7 separate regions of the Homo sapiens genome follow, and regions 1, 2, 3, 4, 6 and 7 are each linked to region 5. Evidence: promoter capture Hi-C in 16 types of primary human blood cells and fetal thymus (Javierre and others, 2016). All regions are on one chromosome and are shown on one strand. Each heading gives the region's core, a stretch centred on a gene start or on the middle of the fragment in contact. The rest is flanking DNA. Distances are from core to core; before and after follow the strand shown.

Region 1 (3,026 bases), core at 102-2,601, 800 kb before region 5:
CTGCAACCTCAGCATCCCAGGTTCAAGCTATTCTCCTGCCTCAGCCTCTGGAGTAGCTGGGATTACAGGCGCCCGCCACCATGCCCGGCTAATTTTTGTATTTTTAGTAGAGACAGCGTTTCACCATGTTGGCCAGGCTGGTCTTGAACTCCTGACCTCAGGTGATCCGCCCGCCTCGGCCTCCCAAAGTGCTAGGATTACAGGCATGAGCCACTGAGCCCTGCCTTAAGGTCATGTTTTTACTTGAAGATACAGCATCTCTGAATTTAACTGTGAGTTTGGCCTAAGAATTGCTTTTCTGTAAAGGTGGCAGGTGATGGTATTTCCTTGCAAGAAAATACCATAATTGTAAAATATATACTTGATGAACTAAATAATATACTCACCTATTAATAATAACTATAGAAAATAACATGATTTGAAATGACAATAAAACCATAGAAACCTAAGCAAGACTAATATATATGGCAATATATTAATTGTCTAGTTGGATCTATTAACTTTTTACATATTTAATCATCCTGGAGACATTAATTTAATTTCTCAATAACAACATGGTAATGATTGAGGTAAATTGCCTCGAATTTGCTCCTTTTAAAACACTGTCGTGAATTTATAGAATGATGTCATCCCCTTGAAAGTTTACAATATTTTAGATAAATATAGAACTCAAGTGACCCTATTATTTAGTTCAGGGATTCATGAATTATGTATATTGTAGGAAAATTTTGTATTTATATGGGAATATGTTTTATTTTCTGGAGAAAGGATCCACAAGTTTAATTGGATTCCTGAAAGGCTCCGTCATACACACATGGCCTGGCTGACACCCGAAGCTGCCTTATTTGAACAGCAGGTGTCACCACTGCTCTTTGTACGGGCCCTCAGGGCTGTCCTTAAAGCAGACACGGCAAGTAACTTATTAATATAAATTATTAGTATTATGTCTGTGTAAAACCAAGAATACAAGTTTTAAGGAAAGCCCTCCTTCTTTAGGCAAGATTTTTTAAACTCACCAATACAGAAACTCTTTTTATTCTCCTTCAAATATTGTCCTTTGCTCTTGAACAGTGATAGGTCATATGAGTATAGATTTGAGTGCCATTTTCATCAGCTTTTTATGATATTTTTATAGGAAGTGTTTTCTGATTCTTATAAAATAATAAATATTACTATTTATTTTTCTGTTTCAACTTAGAGGGTTAAATATACAAGCTTTAAAAAACACTATATGCAATGTTCTTTAGAGTTGTGTGGCTCAGTATGTCCATCCCTTAAATTTCATATTTGAAATTGTTCGTTAATTCAAAAGGAAGTAATCATGGGAGTTATCACTGTTTATTTGAATTTCTGAGGTCAAAACCTGTGAAAAATGATACTTGGACATTTCTTCCAAAACTTTGGTCTTTAATTGTTTAGCACAATGCTATGAATTTGCCTAAATACTAAGGTAGTGTTAGCAGATACTTTCTTGTAGCATAGTTGAAACAAGCTTCTGGGACTATAAGGAACAGTGAAGGGGCTGTTCTTCCTGTTAATGCCTGGAAAGACTTTGGGAATAATTAGATTGTACTATCAGTTATAAACTGTCAGTTATAAATATCTTAGCAAGGTGTATGTGTGTGTGTGAGAGAGAGAGAGAGAGTCCTCGGGTCTTACTTATCACAATTTCACCATCCTCTACTACATGAAGCCCCATCTCATGTGTATTAGTTTGCTAGGGCTGATGTAACAAAGTACCACAAACTGGATGGCTTAGACAACAAATGTTTATTGTCTCACAGTTCTGGAGGCAAGAGGCTTGAAATAAAGGCGTTGGCAAAGTTGGTTCCTTCTAAGGGCTGTGAGAGAGAATGTGTTCTATGCCTCTCCCCTAACTTCCAGTAGTTCTCTGGCAGTCTTTGCCGTTTCTTGTCTTCTGCTGCATCACTGTCATGTCTGCCTTCATCTTCACATTTCGTTCTCACTGTGCATATGCCTATGCCAAATTTCTCCTTCTTAAAGAACATCAATCATATTGAATTAAAGGCCCACCCTACTCCAGTATGGCTTCATCTTAACTAATTCCATCCAAAAATACCCTATTTCCAAATAAGGTCACATTCTTAGATACTGGGGGTTAGGAATTCATAATGTGAATTTGGGGGGACACAGTTCAACCCACAACACTATATCACAAAATAAGTGACAATATTGAACATAATCATGACTTTTGTTGTTTACCTTTACAAATAAGAATTTGTACTTACAAATATTTGCAGGCATTTACAAATGTTTTTATTTTACAGAAATATTTTTGGTGTTTATACTGCCACAGAAGAAATAACAATGTCTTGGTTCCAGCTTTCTTAGCTGAATGTTTTGTTGTAATATTTGTTTAAATATCTGTATTTCCCAGTAGACTTATGGGGTGAATATGGCATGATGTTTACTATCACACAGTCAGAATCTAATTGACTTGCAACTGGTAAGTTTTCAATATTTATTGAATGAATGAATAAGTAAGCTATTATATTGTACACTTAAATATGGGTTTAGGTGGCTTTGAGAGCTTAATTTTTTTTGAGACGGAGTCTGGCTCTGCCGGCCAGGTTGAAGTGCAGTGGCACCATCTCAGCTCACTGCAATCTCTGCCTCCTGGATTCAAATGATTCTCCTGCCTCAGCCTCCGGAGTAGCTGGGAATACAGGTGTGCACCACCACGCCTGGCTAATTACTTGTATTTTTAGTAGACATGGGGTTTTACCATGTTGGCCAGGCTAGTCTCGCACTCCCGACCTTAGGTGATCCACCTGTCTCAGCCTCTCAAAGTGCTGGGATTACAGGTGTGAACCACTGAGCCCAGCCGAGACTTTAATTTTGATTTGGAGTTGCAGCTACTGAACATGTAGGAAGGATGGTCTGTGAGTGTGTGTGTGTGTGTGTGTGTGTGTGTGTGTGATGTGCTCACTCCGAAAAGTTGCTATTTCAGTAACCATTAATTTAATCACAGTCTTTCTGTGTGTGTAATGCAGATAATTGCTTAT
Region 2 (2,500 bases), core at 1-2,500, 760 kb before region 5:
CTTTCCACAACCCTTGGGCCACGCACGCCTCCTCCTTCAGCTAGAAAGTCACCTTCACCACTATCTGCAGTCTTTAAAGATTCATTCACATACACAAAAGAGAGCAACAGCAATGTTAGCCAGAAGAGGAGACAGTGGCATGCCTACAAGTCCCCAGGAAGAGATGGCACTCTCACAGAGATTAAGGAGAGCAGACACAGGGCTTCGGCAAGCTTCAGGTTTCTTATCTTCAAATGGAAATCCTAGGACCCATTTTATGGAGTTGTTATGAGAATTAAAGGAGACAAGGTGTACAAATTTCTTAACTGTGTGTGACACTTAAATAAGCATTTGATAAATATTAGGAGTTTTAAAGAATCCATCCTAAAAGGAAAATTATTTGAATCTATAAAATCAGTTAAATTTTACCTTTTCATTTTTACTAATGACTGCAGACAGAAAGTTGAAAACTACTGTAGAGCTCTTTCTCCTGTAATTGCTGCTTCAGTAGAAAAACCTAGACTATCTTAACTGAATGTTCCTCTCTCCTTCAAGTTTCTATGTAACCTTTAGAGATGGATTCATAATTTAAAAGAATACCATTACTGCGGAAAAGCGTATTGCCTTACTAACTAATCTCTTCTGATACTGCAAAGATATTTCCAAAGATAATTCGTTTGCTTTTTCTTCTGTCTTGACAAACACAACAATAACCTTTCAGCAAAACTGTACTAACACTAAAAGTTCTGCTTATTATGGACAAGTAGCAAGAAATTAATAACTAAAGAAAACAAATCTTACCATAAAATGTTTTATTCCATTAACTAGCATTATAATGCACCAAGGCTTTATAGGTACAAGGATGGCAAATAATTCTTGCCCTTTTTAAAACAAAACAAAACAAAATGTGGTAAGACTGAATGACAGATGCTAAAGTTTCCCTTGTGAGTTTGTACACTCTCATCCATCTAAGATCTTCCTCTTGGTGTCATATTACCCTGTATTCTTGAGGTGTCAAGCCCACCCAGGAAATTTCCTCCCAGGCCTGGGGTCATAAAGCTAAGAGTGTGTCAGGACATAGAGCAGGTAGACTCTGACCTCCAGGCTCTTTGTGGAATAAACACCAGAGAGAAAGCAAGAAGAAAAAATGAAAAGGGCCATACCCATGCTGTGCCCACCACACTTAGGACCAGGCAGACGATCCTCATGGAAAACATCTTTTCTAAGGGTGGGGCTGGCTCCTGAGGAGCACTCCAGCTGAAAGAAAGGATTGCTGCCACTCCTAGTTCCCATCCTATTTAAATCTGCAAGAGGTTTGGTTAATCATTGGCTTTGTCCTGTGTAGACAGTCAACCCTCCCTCTACGTCCTTTGTTCCTCCTATGCTGTTGGTATCCCAGAAATTCTTGCTCAATTCCCCTCAGCTTGTTTGCTTCCGATAAGCTGTTGCAAAGGTAGCATTTGATTCTCCAGTCAACAATTAGGAGATCTCACATTCCAGGAACAGGGTGGCTTTGAGAATGAAAAGAGGAGCATAGGAGGGTATATCCATATTTCTAAACGTGAAAGAATATAGAAGGTGCTTAGGTAAGCTAGCTGTAGCCCCCAGTAGTAGTGATTTAGCAAACAATATTTCACTTTATGCAGAAATTAGGGTTGGGTGATCTGGCTTATAAAAAAAATAACTTTGGGGATAAGCTGGCCCTGAAGGCTTTCTATAAGTTTATTTAGAACATATTACTTTTCTCTATTTAAAATATTAAGATGACAGCAGCCCCAGGAACAAAACATCTTGGGTTCATAATCCAAGCTGCACCACTTCCCTGCTCTATGTTCTTGGACAAGTTACTTTACCTCTTTATACTTCAGTTTCCTCATTTATAAAATAAGGATGCTGATAAGCTACCCCATGCTTTTATGAAGAATAAATGAGTTAATTCTTGTAAATCTCTCAGAACAGTGACTGTCACATAGGAAATACTCAGTGAATTATGGGAGATCATAAAGTGCCATGAAAAATACCATTTATTTCCTGTTTCTGTGCTAGCAATCTCATTTCTGAGTGTATTTCCAAAGGAAATGAAATCAGGATCTTGAAGAGACACCTGCATTCCCATGTTCATTGTAGCTATATTGACAATAGCCGAGATATGAAAACAACCTGTTTCCACTGATGGATGAGTAGATAAAGAAAATGTGTATATATATATATACACAATGGAGTATTACTCAGCCTTGAAAAAGAAGGAAATTCTGTCATTTGCAGTAACATTGATGAACCTAGAGGGCATTATCCTAAGTGAAATGAGCAGATATAGACAGACAAATACTGCTTAGCTGGTCGTGGTGACAGGCACCTGTAATCCCAGCTACTCAGGAGGCTGAGGCAGGGAGAATCACTTGAACGCGGGAGGTGGAGGAGGTTGCAGTGAGCCGAGATTGCATCATTGCACTCCAGCCTGGGCCACAGAGTGAGACTCCTTCTCAAAAAAAAAAAAAAAAACGGAAAAGAAAGACAAATA
Region 3 (3,390 bases), core at 742-3,241, 820 kb before region 5:
AGGAAAAATTTCAAGTGCATTTAAATTATGTTAGGATTCAATTCTGAAGTTCTTCAGGTTTAGTGATGTATGTGTTAGTGGTGGTAGAGGTGGCTGTCTTTGACAACTTCATTTTTTTATGGCAATTAATTTGTTTATGTTTTCTGTATCCTTTTGAAATAGCCATAGGCTATTTTTTTCTTTAATCATTTTGTTTGGCAAATGGCATGGAATTGGACAGAGCTCTTTTAGTTATTACTTCCCTCCTCCCTTTGTTTCTATTATTTATATTTCTGTTTAATTGGCTTATCTAGTTTTATCTATTTTTGTACCAAAAAAATCAGTATTTATTATTTTTCCTTATTAACTTACCAATTCCTTTTTTCAAAAGAAAAATGTTTAACACATTTTCATTATTTTTTTTTTTTGCAATTGGTTGAAAAAATGTAAAGTGAGGAAATAGAAATAAGTTTATCAAAAACTCTAAGAGTTTGGCTGTAAGAGTAGAGAAATGGGTGTATTCCTAGAGGGAAACAATAGGTTTAGTGTTTTTTTTTTCTAAGAAGCAGTATTGCAACCTATTTGTTGATGACACTCATTTAGGGCAGAGGGAAGAAATTCATGGTACAGGAGAGAAAGAGTTTAATCATGGGAGCAAGGTCCTTGAGTGGGCAAGAGTGTATGGCAACAACTGCACAGAGGGAATTGTTGTGAGGCAGATTGCTCATCCTCTGTAACAGCAGGCAGAAGGCATTAACTATGGAAATGTGTATTTGGTCATTATTGATGGCCCACTTGAGATATGTGGTTATAGACCAAGAATGAGTCCAGTCAGTGGAGCTGTTTTTCTTTGGTAACATTTTATAGCTTGACTACACTCAAGCTGTACGGAATGGGCAGTGGAAAAGATTTGAGCTTAACCCTGGTTGGATGTCTGTCAGGTAAGTAAAAGGGCACATGCATGAAATTCTGCATCTTTCATAGGGTTCACAAACACATTATGGTATATGAATTAATGCAACAGAGGATTCAAGAACACTGTAATACAGGGCAGCATGGAGCAGGGAAAGAGATTTTTTTTTAATGCTTTTCAGAATTTGATACGTATACCTAACTTGAACACAATAGTTGAAGCTTTGCCAGACAGGTCGGTAGGGGCTTTCTCATCTCCTTGTACTAGTAATTTCTTCTTGGCCTTTAGAGATGGAACAGCATCCACCTCTGATTTTTCTTGTTAGAAGGCATATCAGAATCTCTCAGGAATGCAAGTGTAGTGTTCTTTTTTCTTTATTTAAGTTTACGAAATACATGCTTATAGAAAATTAAAACATTATAGAAATATGTAAAGCCACCCATGAAAGTTCTTCCATAATTCTGCTTCCTAACAAAGCCACTGTTAGTAATGTGGTGTTACTTATATTTTAGAGCATCAAGTTGTCCACAAAAATGCTTGCACAACTTTTTTTTTTACCCAAGTTTAGAAATCTTGCCCTAATAATCCAGACATTCCTCACTCTCTTAACGAATACTTAGAAACAAATTGCATAAAGGTACCATCTATTAAACCAGTCCCTTACTGACAGGGCATTTGGGCTAGTTTTAAGTATTAAAGAACAAAGGTGCAATGACTTTGCTTGTGTACACTTGTCAGATCATTCCCATTAGGCAGTTTCCTAGGAATGAACTTAGTAGGCCAAAAGGTTCAAAGTTTCAATAAATCCCAGAAAACTACATTCCTAAAGGCTGTGACAATTATACTCCCACCTATGGCATACAAGATGGGTAATGTAATTGGAAGTGCTTGTTCAAAATCATGGTGCAATTTTTTAATTTGGAAAATTTAAAAAATTGACTGTTCTTATAACTGTGTTTTCTAATTATAGAAGGTGAAGTCTGACAAATCTTGATTAATGGGGAATCAGGATCCCAGGGCAGGATTTATAAAACTTGTATTTACCAAAAAGAGGCATCAGTATTAGAAACTTTAAAACTTCTCTTTAAAATCTCCGCAAGATTGCAGCCCTTGCTACAGCTTTAAATAGCTGCACTGGTATCTCCAGTTATTTTCCCCAAGTTTCAATACCAGTATTGGTATCCTACTAGTTGAGGAATAAAATCCATACTTATATGAGCTTTCCCCAGAACAAGCCAGCTTTAGTCCCATTATTCGACAGTAGCAGAACATTCTTTGTCCCAGAACACACCGCACACTTTCTTGTGCCTGGTTTCATCACTTTATGCCTCATCTCTTTTCCTTCTTTGTCTTCCTTCACTTCAAGGTAATCTCCAATGCCACTTACTCTATGAAGTCTTCCACAATCCTTCCTGAGAAAAATAAATGGTCTTATCCCTTCTGTTCCCCCAGCATTTCACCTGCACCTCTGTTACAGAATTTCTATACTAAGCTACCAAACTGGAAGTCTTAGAGGATAGACACATCTTACTTGTCTATTTCCTGAACAGTATCTAGTGCAGAACTTTGTAGAACATACACTCAAAAACTGTTTTTGGAATAAACATACATAAATTAAGACTTCAAATCTTTTAATCTCAAATTATTAGTCACAGATGTTATTTTTTAAAGGACTAAAAAAAAACTACTGCTCCTTCAAATGTCCTAATTATCGGTTTCATACATTTTTTTTAAAAAAGGGGGTTTTCTAATAAGACTGTCAAAATATTACATCTAGAATAGTTATGTTCAATAAACCTGCATTTACTTGATATCTGCATCTTCCTAGTATCACAAATTGTTTTAGAAATAAAAACACAGGGGTAGGGGACAGGGGACAGTTTATTGTAAAATATGAAGCAGCAATGATTGAAGCAAGTGAATTTCTCCTTTATATTCCCAGCCAGAGCACAAAATGACTGGATATCCTCATGAACGCCAAGCTTTTTTTTTTTTAATTAAAAAGAAAAAAAAAGAGAGAGAAAAAATTCCACATTCATTAAAATCTCTTTCTCTTGATAATTTCTGGTTTCCAGCTGACTGGATGAGTTTCTTCTGTCTAAAAATAGAAAAGTGAGTTAAAATAAAGTATTATTAGTTTGCTTCATGTCTAATAGGCTTCCTTTCTAACAAAAATAAGGTATCTAACATTATTCATTGGCTTTATACACTTAGTTCTTTGACAGTTTTAGGAAGAGTTGATAAACTTCTGGCATTATCCAAGTCTAATAACAGATGGATGGATTCATTATGTTTAGTTTGTAGTTTTCCATCTAAAATAACATTTCTACTTGGATATTCTACTAACACCAAAGCTTATGATTCTCGAATTAATTTACATAGCAATCTATTTATTTGCTGTTATTCTTGGTGCAACATTTCCCAGCAACTATAACAAAGGAAGTTGGGATAAAATTAAAGCCATCCATGGATTCACTGGCATCAGTGAAACAATATAG
Region 4 (3,314 bases), core at 256-2,755, 780 kb before region 5:
AGCAGAATATGCCTGTTGCCCATAGAAACGAGGTCTATTCTTGTCCTCAATTAGGCTTTTTTTTCTTCATAGTTACACCAGAACTAAAGTAAAAGTGGTTTTTCTGTTCTTTCTACTTCTCCCCATGAAATGGGCATATCATCTCAACACTTCACTCCAAGTCGCCACGGGCAACCTTATGACCCTAGGTCCTCCACCCCTAATGTATCATCATTGCCACCCATTTTTATGGTACTTATTGTTCTTAAGCTTATCCTCTTAATCTTTTCATGTAAGCAAAGCTCATTAATTTCTGTCTTGGAAATGCTACTACTCTCTTTAATTACTCACCAAATCCAACTTTAACTTTTGACCTGGTTTCTCTGCCACAAGTTCTGTCCCACTGGAGCCCATACTCACCTACCGCTTTGCCATCACATTTAACAGAAAACTCTTATCAACTTACTTCCTGCTTAACATTAGCTCCTTCCTATCTATATCCAAATTTCTTAAATTCAAATTTTTTAGCTGGAGTAAAAATGGTCCCAGTACCATTTCCTGTTCCCTTCACTATAACCTACATTTTTGTCACATTAAGTTTTTCCCCATTCCAGGACAGGTCAGGCCCTTTAAAAATTTCAACAGCTTTATTGAGATATAATTGATATAATTTAAAAAATCCTGCACATGTGTCATGCTGGAGCCCTATTGATTCCAACAGGGATGGCGCCTTGTCCAAGAAGAGACCCAGAGCCAGTGAATGGGACATAGGGTTTATTTAGGACTTAAATACAGATGTGGTCCAGTGGCAGTGGGCTGGACAGGACCGCTACTATTTGTAAAGAGTATGTAGTTTATATAACATTTCTACTTAGCACTCTCCACTTAGCAACCTCCATTTAACCCAAAATAAAAGGCCTTGGTTCCTTGCACATCCTGAGTTCCAACGGACAGGCAGGGAGTTCAAGTGTCCTTCACAGATAAGAAGTGAATCTCTCTGGGTTGGCCATTCCCGGATTCCTTAGCTTAGACTCTGAACACATATTCTTCTTAGACCATACAGTCATTCTCAGGGTATGCTTGAGTTAATGCTGTCGGATGCATCTGTCATACAAAGTGTTTAACATATACGATTTCATGATTTTGGAAATATGCATACACCCATGATATCACTGGCACAGTCAAGATATTAAATATATCCATCACCTCCAAAAGTTTCCTTGTGTTCATTTATTTTAGTTTTTCATGGTAAGAACATTTAATATGAAATATTATCAACAAATTTTTAAGTGCACAATACTGTATTATTAATTTTAGGCATTATGTTGTACAGTAGATCTCTAGAACATATTCATCTACTAAAAATGAAATTTTATCTCCATTTCCCCCTACCTCCCATCCCCTGGCAACTACCATTCTATTTTCCACTTTGACTGTTTCAGATACCTCATATAAGTGAAATCACACAGTATCCTTTCGCACTGTTGTGGGGATGTAAAACGGTGCAGCTACCATGGGAAGAAATGTGGAGGCCCCTAAAAAATTTTTTAAAAAATTCTGATTATCATATGATCCAGCAATCTCACTTTTAGGCATATATCCAAAAGAACTGATATCAGGATCTGGAAGCAATATTTGTGCATCTGTGGTCATTGCAACATTATTCACAATGTTCAGGTCCTTTTATATGATGCCCTCATTGCAGCAATGTCTTCCTCCCAACACCATCTGACAAACTGCTATTTGTTTTTAAACCTCACTTTAACTGTCACCGCCCAGAGAAGACTTTCTAAAACCTTTGGGCAAATTTTATTACTTTTTGACAATGAATGCCTGAGGCTTATCCAGCTTTGATTCCAGAAACATCAGCCTGTCAGAATGGCTAATTTTCATGCATTTGTGAATGCTGGATGGCTAAATCCAGTGATTTTCAAAGTCTCGAACATCCTCTTTTTAAATGTAGAACCCATTTTCCAATAAAGCCACAAACAGAAACTCAACATGCAAAGTTCTTGAATATGGAACTTTTGGGGCAATACTGAGAGTCGCAAAAGTTCACTGAATGAAAAATGCGGGTTGGGAAGACTGCAGTCATCAGACCTTTGCTCACTCCTTACGTGTTCACAGAGGATCAAATGAATCCCTAGAGCTTGAAGTAATGCCATAGAAGAAAAACCACTAAAGTAGATAATCTGATGGTCAATTCTTAGTTAATGTACAAATAGAAAAAACACAGAGACCACTCCCAGGTAATATGTAAGTCTATCTAGAAAGAAATGCACTTTCTTGGCTGGGCACAGTGGCTCCCATCTGCAAACCCAGCACTTTGCTGGGATGAGGTGGGAAGATTGCTTCAGACCAGGAGTTAGAGGCCAGCTTGGCAACATAGTGAGACCCTGGCTCTACTATAAAACTTGTAAAAACAAACGAAAATACAGTAACGAAAAAAGAAATGCACTTTCTTAAGGTGTCATTTGGTAAGAAATGTTATGTGTCTGATTTTGCCCATGCACAATTTTGAATATAATAAAAAAGGTAGCTTCCCCTATTTAGAATATATAAAACAGTAACAACAAGATTGTATAACTCATGATTTTAAGATGATAATAGAAAGATTAGTTGAAAGTTTTTAATCCCACACTGTGGTATGAGAACTATTTTATTTATATATATATATACATATATATATATACACATATATAATTATATATATGTATATATAATTATACAATTAGGACTGAAAGTCTGCAACAAACTATAATGGATGTATGCACTTGGGACATAAGCTTCTAGTTCCTCTTTATTTATGAACCAAGAGAAACAGCTAACTCAGGGATTGTTTTTAAACTGACTACAGATTCCCACCATGGGGCAAAAATATGGGTGACATGACACATCACCAGCTGCAGTAGCTCAGCTCACATTTCTGTTTAAGCATTACACACATAATATCCTGTATGCTGATCATTTAAACTTACTGACGCTTGTAATCCCAGCACTTTGGGAGGCCGAGGGGGGTGAATCATGAGGTCAGGAAATTGAGACCATCCTGGACAACATGGTGAAATCGAAACAGTGTCTCTACTAAAAATACAAAAATTAGCTGGGTGTGGTGGTGTGCACCTGTAATCCCAGCTACTCGGGAGGCTGAGGCAGGAGAATCACTTGAACCCGGGAGGCAGAGGTTACAGTGAGCTGAGATCACGCCACTGCACTCCAGCCTGGGCATAAGACTGAGACTCCAAGTCAAAAAAAAAAATGCAGATTTCTTGGTACTAACCTAGGTTTATTACATCAGAGACTCTAAGGGCAAAGAGCCTGAGTCTCCATTTTAA
Region 5 (2,967 bases), core at 423-2,922:
GACACAAAAGGTACATGAAAAAGACGAAAGTGCATTGACAAATAATACCTACCAGCCATTTTTCATATTCATTAATAGCTTGTTTATCTTTATCTTTTTTCTCAGCTCTTTTCAGTTCTTCCTTTCTTTTCTCATTTATTTTTTCTTTTTCCTTTTGCTTGAAAAAAGCTTCCTTTTTTTCATTCCTATAGAGCATAGTATAAAACACTGGAGAGTTAAAGGAAAATACATAATAAAGATTCCCTAGTACATCTTTGACAGTAATGAAATTGAAATGCATTACTAAATTTCAAGTAAATAAATTTTATAAAATCCTGAAGTGTTACTATAATTTAAAATATATCAAAATATTTATGATTTTGGATTACCATTTCTCAACAGCAGTTAAATTATCTTTCTTTTTCTCGGCAACAGTTTCCTCCTCTTTCTGTTTCTTTGCTCTTTCATATTCTCTCTCCTTTCTATTTTTCTCTTTAAGATATTCCATCTTTTTCTCTTTCCATTTTTCAAAAGCCTGAAAAAGTTCAGAATAATTTTCTTACTGTGAATATTTGAAAATAAATAAAAATATGGTTAATCATTAATTTGGATTTCAAATGTTTTAAAATAATTAAGATGTGCAAAGTTCTGAATACTTGTAGTGCTTCTCCTTTTCTTGCAGCATTTTCTTCTTCAGTTTTCTTCTTGTTTTTTTCTTCAAGCCTCTTTTTGGCAGCTATTTTCTTTGCTTCCTTTTCTTTCATAGCCTTCCAGGCCTCAAATGATGCTAATGCTTCTTCTCTTTTAGCAGCTTTTTTCTACAGTGGAAAAAATAATAGAGTGATATACATATATATGTATATATACATAGACACAAATATGGCTAGATATAAATATACACATATACATTTATCTTTAGTCCTCTGATATTCATTATACTTAGAAATTAACTTTCAAAGTAGGTAATTTATTTAGAATGGCTTAGATAATTTACAAAGAATGTTATCTGAATTATTCATTGGTTTTAAAACGTCCTTTTCTAAAAACATTTATCACATATTGACCTATTAATGAGAAAGATGTCAACTATTATTTTTGAAAGTGTACTAAACAAATTATATCAAAATAAACTGTAATAGGCTAAGTGGTATAGTAAAATTTTCATAATAAAATATTTGAAAAAAAAATCAGTAAAGTTATGGGCTTATAAAGTAAGTTAGAGTAAGGCAAATTGGCCAAGCCATGCAGTAAGATGCAGATTTTTGGTTTAAATCTTAATTTTGAATAGTATCAAAACATAAAGTTCTTACTGCACAAATGTATTCCAAATGTTGAAAGTATGTGCTCGACTGAAAAATAGGTTGGAGACTGTATAGCAAGTTATGTTATTATTTTACTTCCTTCAATCTAATCCCATAATATTCTATGTTTGCTTTATTGTTCAATATTAAATGACATAAAACCTTAATATTGGGGTAACATAATTTAGAGGTCAAAGTACTATCTACCTCACAGAGCTACGAAAATCAAATGAGAAGGGGTATGGCACTGACCACAGCAGCATACTGCTATGAACGTGGTTAACAGATAGACAGGCACGCCCCCTGGAGGGCTGCTCCCTTCACTACTGACGCATTATCGTGCAGTTCACCTTGGAAAATATTTTTCTTCTAAATCTATTTTTAGTATTGAACAGCACACTGGAGTTTTTGTCCAGAAGTTTGACTTTAGAAGATAAGAAATAACTGAGCGTATTACAAGCAGGAGTTAGAGGAAGAGACTCAGTACAGAAGAGACAGGAACAAAAGTTCACCTCCATTCAATGGGAAAGGATACAGATCAAGAGTTCAGGTAGGGGTTGGACTTGAAGATACTTATAAAATTCAAGAGAGAAAAGAGGAAAATTGAAGGCTAACTAGTGTCTAATGATCCTTTATCTTGTCGTGCCTTTTTTTTTTTTTTTGAGACAGAGTCTCTGTCACCTAGGCTGGAGTACAGTGGCACGATCTCAGCTAACTGCAACCTCCGCCTCCCGGGTTCAAGTGATCCTGCCACCTCAGCCTCCTGAGTAGCTGGGATTACAGGTGCCCACCACCATCCCTGGCTAATTTTTGTATTTTTAGTAGAGATGGGGTTTCACCACATTGCCCAGGCTGGTGTCGAACTCCAGACCTCAAGGAATCCCATCTGCCTTGGCCTCCCAAAGTGCTGGGATTACAGGCATGAGCCACAGTACCTGGCCTTCTTGGTTAAGTTCTAAATGAAATCAACTTTTAAAAGTGAATTAGGTGCTCATAAACAATAATAACTTCATAATCAGCAGGAACAAAGCTATCCTATACATATACAAAATTAAAATCTGTTTTCATGTAAAACAGTTATATCAAACTAAAATGTATAAAGTAAAACAGAAGTAAAACCGGAAATCATTTCTTTAATATACAAGTTATTTTGCCATTTAAAAAGCTGATTTAGAAAAGTTATATATTCAGGGATATTTTACTGAAATAAAAATCCAAAACATTTTTACTTCTATATGTCAGAATACCTGTTCATTTTGGATCCTTAAGTTTTCACTTTCAATTCTTTTTATTCTGTGCATTTCATGTAAATACACATTTTTCTTTTCTAACCACTCCTATAAGAACAAGAAAAAGGTCATATAATATTTAAAATTTCTTAAGTGAATTAGAATTCTTTATATTAACATTTTCTCTGAAATTCACATGTACAATTTTCTAAAGTATACTATTCTACTCTAAAAAAGACAAAAAAAGACTTTTAGAATTGTGAATAAATTAATACAATCTTTTTCCTATGTACGCCTAACAACATCTCAGGAAAGAAAAAATTTAATAACTTTTTGTTCATAATAACTCCTTTTGTTCATATAAACTTCAAGAAGAAAAAAATGAAAACATATATAGACTTTACAATGTTTTGGCTTGTGCTGTATTTCTATAAATTGCAATGGCATATTCTTTCTTT
Region 6 (3,086 bases), core at 466-2,965, 720 kb before region 5:
CACACACACACACACTTAGTAAAACTGTTTGACTTACATAGTCACAAAAAGTAAATAACTTGATGAACCTTTAAAAGGCCTTTAATAGACACATGCACACATATGTTTATTGCAGCACTGTTTACAATGGCAAAGTCATGGAACCAACCCAAATGCCCATCAATAATAGACTGGATAAAGAAAACGTGGTATGTATATACCATGGAATACTATGCAGCCATAAAAAAGAATGAGTTCATGTCCTTTGTGGGGACATGGATGAAGCTCGAAGGCATCATCCTCAGCAAACTAACACAGGAACAGAAAACCAAACACTGCATGTTCTCGCTCATAGGTGGGAGTTGAACAATGAGAACACATGGACACGGAGGGGAACAACACACACCAGGGCCTGTTGTGGGGTAGGGGAAAAGGAGAGGGAACTTAGAGGTCGTGTCAATAGGTGCAGCAAACCACCATGGCACAGGTATACCTATGTGACAAACCTGCATGTTCTGCACATGGATCCTGGAGCTTAAAGTAAAATTTTTTTTTAAAAAAGGGCTTTATTGGCCAGGTGCGGTGGCTCACGCCTGTAATCCCAGCACTTTGGGAGGCTGAGGCGGGCGGATCATGAGGTCAGGAGATCGAGACCATCCTGGCTACCACGATGAAACCCCGTCTCTACTAAAAATACAAAAAAAAAAAAAAAAAAATTAGCTGGGCATGGTGGCGGGGGCCTCTAGTCCCAGCTACTTGGGAGGCTGAGGCAGGAGAATGGCGGGAACCCGGGAGGCGGAGCTTGCAGTGAGCCAAGATCGCGCCACTGCACTCCAGCCTGGGTGACACAGCGAGACTCCGTCTCAAAAAAAAGGGCTTTGTTAGTTGCCTTGTGGTTCTGAGGAAAGAAGGCGGTTGCCATTATGTGAAAGAATTTTTAGAAATACAAAGCCACTTTTAATGCCCCAGCATTTTGGGGGATGATTTCCAGTTGGAGAAAGTTAGAACTGAACTGTTTGCTCTCTGGCACTCTGGATATCCTGTGACTCAGGACGAATCATTTTATGATGACTCCCGGGAGTTAGTGTGAAACTTGAGGCTATGAAACCAATCAAAGCAGCTTCCCAAACTAGAACCAAATCCAGGACTCTGGCCTCATTATCACAGTGGTTTGATTTATTGAGCTAATGAAGAAAGTCTTTTGTAATTGAGTACTGAATATCATATGGTGTTACTGAATATCTCCTTTTGAAGTACTGAAAATGTACTTCTGCTTAAGAAGGATCAATTCCTTAGAACGTGCTGTTGTTTTAGATCTACATGAGGAGCTTTGAATAATTAACAGTCTGGATGTTGTTGCTATGTACGACTTAGTTTTATTAATGACACATTTCAGAATGCACCATAGAGTTGGAAGGGCTGTCTTTAAAATACCGTTATCATCCAGGAGGGGGAGGTATATCTTCTTTTAAGAAGTCAATTGCCCAGAAAAAAGAATAAAACTAGTTATACTATCTTGCAAAAAAAGAAAGCAAAGCTTCATTTGAAAAAGTAAATTTTGTCAAATTTGCAAAACTTCTTATAAAATCACCAGAATTGTTGCTAAATTTTCTATTTGTATACTATCTTTCACTTTTTTTTTTCTATTTGTATACTATCTTCACTGAGATGTGAGGAAACCCTCACATGTCAGTTAATCCACATTTATACTGCTCTTGCTATGTATGTATGTGCCAAATATAGAGCTGGACATCACAGGGCACAAGCAGTGTTCAAGTCACCAGTGCCTCATAGATGAGAGGGTGGAAATAGGAACAGGTTAGGGGGAGGAAATTATATTCAATAAAGGTACCTGTTGAAACTATTATTGGGAAGTATTTCTGTAAACAGGGTGAGAATGGTGTCAACCTAAATTGAGCAACAGGGATTAATTCTCAAGCTTATTAGGGAATAGCAAGGAACTGCAATCAACATAATACATAATACATGCCTGCTATGGAGGACCATAAGGGTATCCGAGGGAGTTGGGAAAAAAAGGAAGCTTTTAAAGGCAAAAAGATATCCATGTACCTGTTTTGAAATAAAGACCACTGGCTACAGGTCTTTTTACATGCAGTGGCATTTGCTCATTGGTGGTACTGGCTGTTGGTAGGAGAGAGTTTTCATAGAAGTGGCTTAACTGGAAATTTCCAGTTGAGGAAGTCATTTCTGGCAGTTCCTGGTGCAGGCACACATGTGTGAGGGCCCTTCCTTCATGGCCTCCCACTGCATTTTGTTAGGGTTTGACATAAGTGACTCCGTTTTGGGTACTGACAATTTTCACAGGAGTTCTATTCAATAGAAGTAACAGTAAGAAGGTTGAGAATGGATATAAAGGAGAGTAGGATTGAGCTTTAGGGAACCCCTGGAGAGAGGAGAAATGGTAGCAGCTAAGGAGATAACAAATGGGAGAGGATACCAGGTGCGGTGGCTCGTGCCTGTAATCCCAACACTTTGCGGGTTGGAGGCAGGCTGATTGCTTGAGCCTAGGAGTTCAAGACTAGCCTGGGCAACATAGCAAGACACCTTCTCTACCAAAAATGCAAAACTTAGCTGGAACCATGGTGCATGCCTATAGTCCCAGCTGCTAGAGAGGCTGAGGCGGGAGGATCGCTTGAGTCCAGGAGTTTGAGGCTTCATTGAGCTAGGATTGCATCACTGCACTCCAGCCTGGGTAACAGAGCAAGACTTTGTCTCTTAAAAACACACACACACATGAGGGGAGGGAGGTGAACCCTGGAAGAAGTGGGAAGAATCTGGATGATCACAGGAACCCTGGAAGGAGGGAGTTTTAAGAAAGTAGTGGTGCTGGGGGAGGAGGCTAGGAGGATAGAGTGAGTTCACATGGACCTGAATAGGTTTAGGAGAATGCACACAGAGAAAAAGATTTTGTATTTGATTAGAAAGAGTACTAGTGGGTATAAATTCTAATTATAGACACTTAGTAACCATTCTTTGGCCAGTTGATAGAAGTGGTTTAGTAGAACATTTAAGTCCATATAGAGCTTGATGCAGCAGATGACAGCAGACAAGGAGCAGGAAAAGCAGGGTTTCCATCTTGCCTCTGT
Region 7 (3,130 bases), core at 551-3,050, 740 kb before region 5:
CCTCTGGTGTGTGAAAGGGTGGTGATGGTGGTGGGGTGGTGGGGGGTGGTGTTGGGCTTCCTCATCTTGTGATGGGAAACCTCAGGTCTTGACCTACCTGACAAAAGAGTTTCCTTCTTTTTATTTGTCACTGTGGTACTATGATTATGTGCCACCATGAATCTACAAAGTCAGTGCCAGTACAATATAGAGTCAAGTCACAAACTCTGAAACTATACTGCCTAGGTTCAAATGCTGACTCTGTTGCTTATTAGTTATGTGGTCTTGGGCAAGTTATTTAACCTTGTGTGCCTCAGTTTCCTTTTCTGTAAATAGGAGTAACAGAAGTACCTTCCTCTTAGGGCTATTGCAAGGATTAAATGAGCTACGGTTCACAAGGTGCTTAGAAAAGTATCTGCCATATGGCAGAAACAATGTAGGAATTTATTAAATACACATGGTGGGGAAAAAATTACCTTCTGAAACACAGTCCATCCATTTCCAGACCCATCGATTTCACAGTAGACTAAGAATTGCTGGTTAGCTTTCAGAGGTTTAATAAAGTAAAGCCCGCTCTGTTTAGCTCCCTTATTGGCAATGTCTTGACAATCTAGAGAAGGAGAATCGACTTTTACTGTGGTTTGAAATGCAGGTAAGACTGTGCCAGCCTTGAAAAATAGCTTTTAACATGTAGTAAACTATTCATTTTCCAAGAATAATTTTCTTACTTTTCACATCAGCATTCCTTTTAAACTGTTTTTTTTAGCTATTCAAGAAAGGTCTAGACAACTGAAATTCTTAGACTTAATGGGTAGCCACTTTCTAAACTATTCCTATACTTTCCAGTACATACTTTCTCCTTTACATTACTTACTTTGATGAACCTAATCCCAATATAACCTTCATCAGTTACCTTTCCCAGTGATATCATGGATTTGCACCGTGTCTTTGCAAGGTTCCTGGCACTGTGCTTCAAGCTGGGCTACCTTCTCTTTCAGGTTAACAATCTTTTGATTATTTGAATTATATATTTCCTGCAAATATCTACAAACAGAAACATAAGATAACAAAAATAAGAAGACAAAAATAAGTATTCCTTTCAGAAGAGTAATTTTATATTTTCTTTGGAAACTGCTAAGTATTTTCTTAAGAAGTGCTTTCTGATAAATTATTCCATTCTTGAGGAAAATGTAAAATTATATTACTAAATTAACATGAATTAAAATTATAAACTTTTTGAAAAAGAAAAACAAATCAAAAAATCAATTAAAACAGGAATACAATGTGGACCTGAATCTTTTTACTTAGAATGGGGCATATTGTCTCAACTCCCAACACAAATAACAAAGTCCTTGTCAATAAGCAAATGTCATTGACATTTTGCTTTTTACTTTATGCATAAGGGACAGCAGATAGCAACCTGCAAGAGTGGCGGGACTGGTTAATAGGAACACCCCCTGATGCTTTAGAAGCAGGAAAAGCTCAGTTCAGTAATTCACATGTGCTGAAGGAGTATACCTTTCACTTGTGGATCTACTGAGGCTATACATATAAGCTTCAATCTAAAATATAACTTACACAGGGACATGATCTGGAACGTTATTGTATGTAAAATAAAACAACAGATACTTCCCCTTTCTTCTTTAATGCTTCTGGTTACATAGCTTTGGGAATGGACTGGGGGAAGTAAAAACCCTCCTTTTGTAGTTACTTACAGGGTGGCTTGCAAATATCCAAAAATGATAGAAAACTGTCTACAATGCATAAACCGTTCTTTCTTTGAAGTAAAAAAGGGTAGACAAACTATTTGTCCACGTTTTCCCTCTACCTTGTCTTAGGCAATTTCTGTACAATAACCTCCTTCAACTTCAATGATGGACAATAATAATGCAAGTAATAATAATAACAATAATAACAAGGGCCCTCTGATAGCAAAAAGAGGAGAAATCTTTCCTGGGCCACTTCTCCCTAGCTACTATTTATCTCAATTTCTCAAGCTGCTTTGAGAAAAATTCAGAAAAAAAAATTGGGGAAAAATATTAAAACTGTATCTGAGACCTTATGTTCAGAAAGTTTATGAGTCCCTGAGAAGCTTTAACAGAGACATTCACTTCCAAATGAAGGGAAGAGACTATGCAGGTTCATTCTGCAATGATCAATATGAGCTTTGCAATATTTGCCACACTTAGTCTCTCAAGACATGTTTCTTCCTGCTCCACATTCAATATAATTTACTTTAGGAGCCAAAATCCTTACTATGCCTCTGCTTGCTAATTTTTTTAACCACCAATTTGTCAGCATTTTTATAAAGAGGATTTTATTTTCAACACCCAAATTCCTATGAGATTGATTTTATGTTGTAAGATAAATGGGGGATGGGGAAAAAATTTTTGATAAATATGGTCAAACTAGCATTTGAAGACATCTAGAACATCTTTCTTCAATGTGATTATTAATAAGCAATTATAACCCAGTATAATTTATATTGCACTAAAAACTTCTATCTCTACTATGCTCAACATAATCAGGCATAATGTCACTGGGATATTATAAATGGGGAAAACACATTAAAAATTACTTTCACTCAAGTATAGAATATTAAATAAAAACTAAATCAGTCTTGCAGAGCAAATTAAAACAAAAATCCTTACCGAATACTTGAGTCATGTGTTAAAATCGATGCTTCATATTTCATAATTTCTTCTAACATTTTCCTGGACTTCAAAGTAGCAGCGTCTATCATATCTGTAATATAGGATCAGAGACATAAAAATCCTTAAGCAAATAGAACAACTAAAACAACAGCAAAAGAACTTCACAGATTATTATTATTATTTTTTGGTCAGTAGTCTTTATTTTCTCACTTGGTTTTGATGATTCATCAGGATTATAAGTGAGTTGGATTGCTTTTATCAGCTGTTTGACTTCTGATGTTTTGTTTTCAACTTGATGTAAGATGTCTTCCAAAGACTGTAGATCCTTGTCTACTTTGGTTTGATAAGTAGACAGGAAATCTGCAATGCCACAGGTAGTTGGACAATAACTACCCTGAAAATATAACAGTGATTAAAAATGTAGACAGATGCTACTCTTAAAATCTATTAAGAAAAATAGGTAAAACCTAGACTATGTTTTTAAAAAGTTACAAGTG

What was found. The method cuts DNA at HindIII sites, captures the fragments that hold promoters and counts their contacts. A CHiCAGO score of 5 or more calls a contact.
Region 1: a contact is called between a fragment that was not itself captured here and the fragment with the promoter of MAP9-AS1 in region 5, in 13 of 17 cell types (total CD8 T cells, total CD4 T cells, naive CD8 T cells and 10 more). The highest score is 32.3, in total CD8 T cells.
Region 2: the fragment with the promoter of FGA here is called in contact with the fragment with the promoter of MAP9-AS1 in region 5 in 8 of 17 cell types (naive CD8 T cells, activated CD4 T cells, total CD8 T cells and 5 more); the score reaches 9.9 in naive CD8 T cells.
Region 3: a fragment that was not itself captured here is called in contact with the fragment with the promoter of MAP9-AS1 in region 5 in 4 of 17 cell types (total CD8 T cells, naive CD4 T cells, total CD4 T cells and 1 more); the score reaches 7.1 in total CD8 T cells.
Region 4: a contact is called between a fragment that was not itself captured here and the fragment with the promoter of MAP9-AS1 in region 5, in 6 of 17 cell types (total CD8 T cells, total CD4 T cells, total B cells and 3 more). The highest score is 11.4, in total CD8 T cells.
Region 6: a fragment that was not itself captured here is called in contact with the fragment with the promoter of MAP9-AS1 in region 5 in 2 of 17 cell types (naive CD4 T cells and total B cells); the score reaches 5.8 in naive CD4 T cells.
Region 7: a contact is called between a fragment that was not itself captured here and the fragment with the promoter of MAP9-AS1 in region 5, in 3 of 17 cell types (total B cells, naive B cells and naive CD8 T cells). The highest score is 6.1, in total B cells.

The regions. Positions count from the first base shown.
Region 1 is chr4:154,551,438-154,554,463 of GRCh38, forward strand. No RefSeq gene overlaps it. Among named protein-coding and RNA genes, the nearest start is that of PLRG1, 2.6 kb to the left of the region's middle. RefSeq lists an enhancer at 680-974. The HindIII fragment of the contact is 277 bases long and covers 1,214-1,490 here.
Region 2 is chr4:154,589,492-154,591,991 of GRCh38, forward strand. It overlaps FGA (fibrinogen alpha chain), which reads right to left and starts at 1,251. Exons shown (of 5, transcript NM_021871.4): 1 at 1,143-1,251; 2 at 1-71. The coding sequence starts at 1,196. The HindIII fragment of the contact is 3,315 bases long and covers 211-2,500 here.
Region 3 is chr4:154,533,755-154,537,144 of GRCh38, forward strand. PLRG1 (pleiotropic regulator 1) reads right to left here. Exons shown (of 15, transcript NM_002669.4): 15 at 1,251-2,990. The coding sequence ends at 2,931. Among named protein-coding and RNA genes, the nearest start is that of PLRG1, 15 kb to the right of the region's middle. The HindIII fragment of the contact is 1,761 bases long and covers 1,112-2,872 here.
Region 4 is chr4:154,571,615-154,574,928 of GRCh38, forward strand. It overlaps FGB (fibrinogen beta chain), which reads left to right. Exons shown (of 8, transcript NM_005141.5): 8 at 1-1,193. Among named protein-coding and RNA genes, the nearest start is that of FGB, 10 kb to the left of the region's middle. The HindIII fragment of the contact is 2,516 bases long and covers 248-2,763 here.
Region 5 is chr4:155,352,544-155,355,510 of GRCh38, forward strand. MAP9-AS1 (MAP9 antisense RNA 1) reads left to right here and starts at 1,673. Exons shown (of 3, transcript NR_125937.1): 1 at 1,673-1,830. It overlaps MAP9 (microtubule associated protein 9), which reads right to left. Exons shown (of 14, transcript NM_001039580.2): 10 at 2,528-2,617; 11 at 636-797; 12 at 369-514; 13 at 53-185. The HindIII fragment of the contact is 4,107 bases long and covers 167-2,967 here.
Region 6 is chr4:154,636,494-154,639,579 of GRCh38, forward strand. The region is part of intron 2 of LOC124900169 (a long non-coding RNA gene); the gene reads left to right. Among named protein-coding and RNA genes, the nearest start is that of FGG, 25 kb to the left of the region's middle. The HindIII fragment of the contact is 402 bases long and covers 1,515-1,916 here.
Region 7 is chr4:154,609,175-154,612,304 of GRCh38, forward strand. It overlaps FGG (fibrinogen gamma chain), which reads right to left. Exons shown (of 9, transcript NM_021870.3): 3 at 2,844-3,027; 4 at 2,631-2,724; 5 at 893-1,023; 6 at 456-589. Among named protein-coding and RNA genes, the nearest start is that of FGG, 1.9 kb to the right of the region's middle. The HindIII fragment of the contact is 537 bases long and covers 1,533-2,069 here.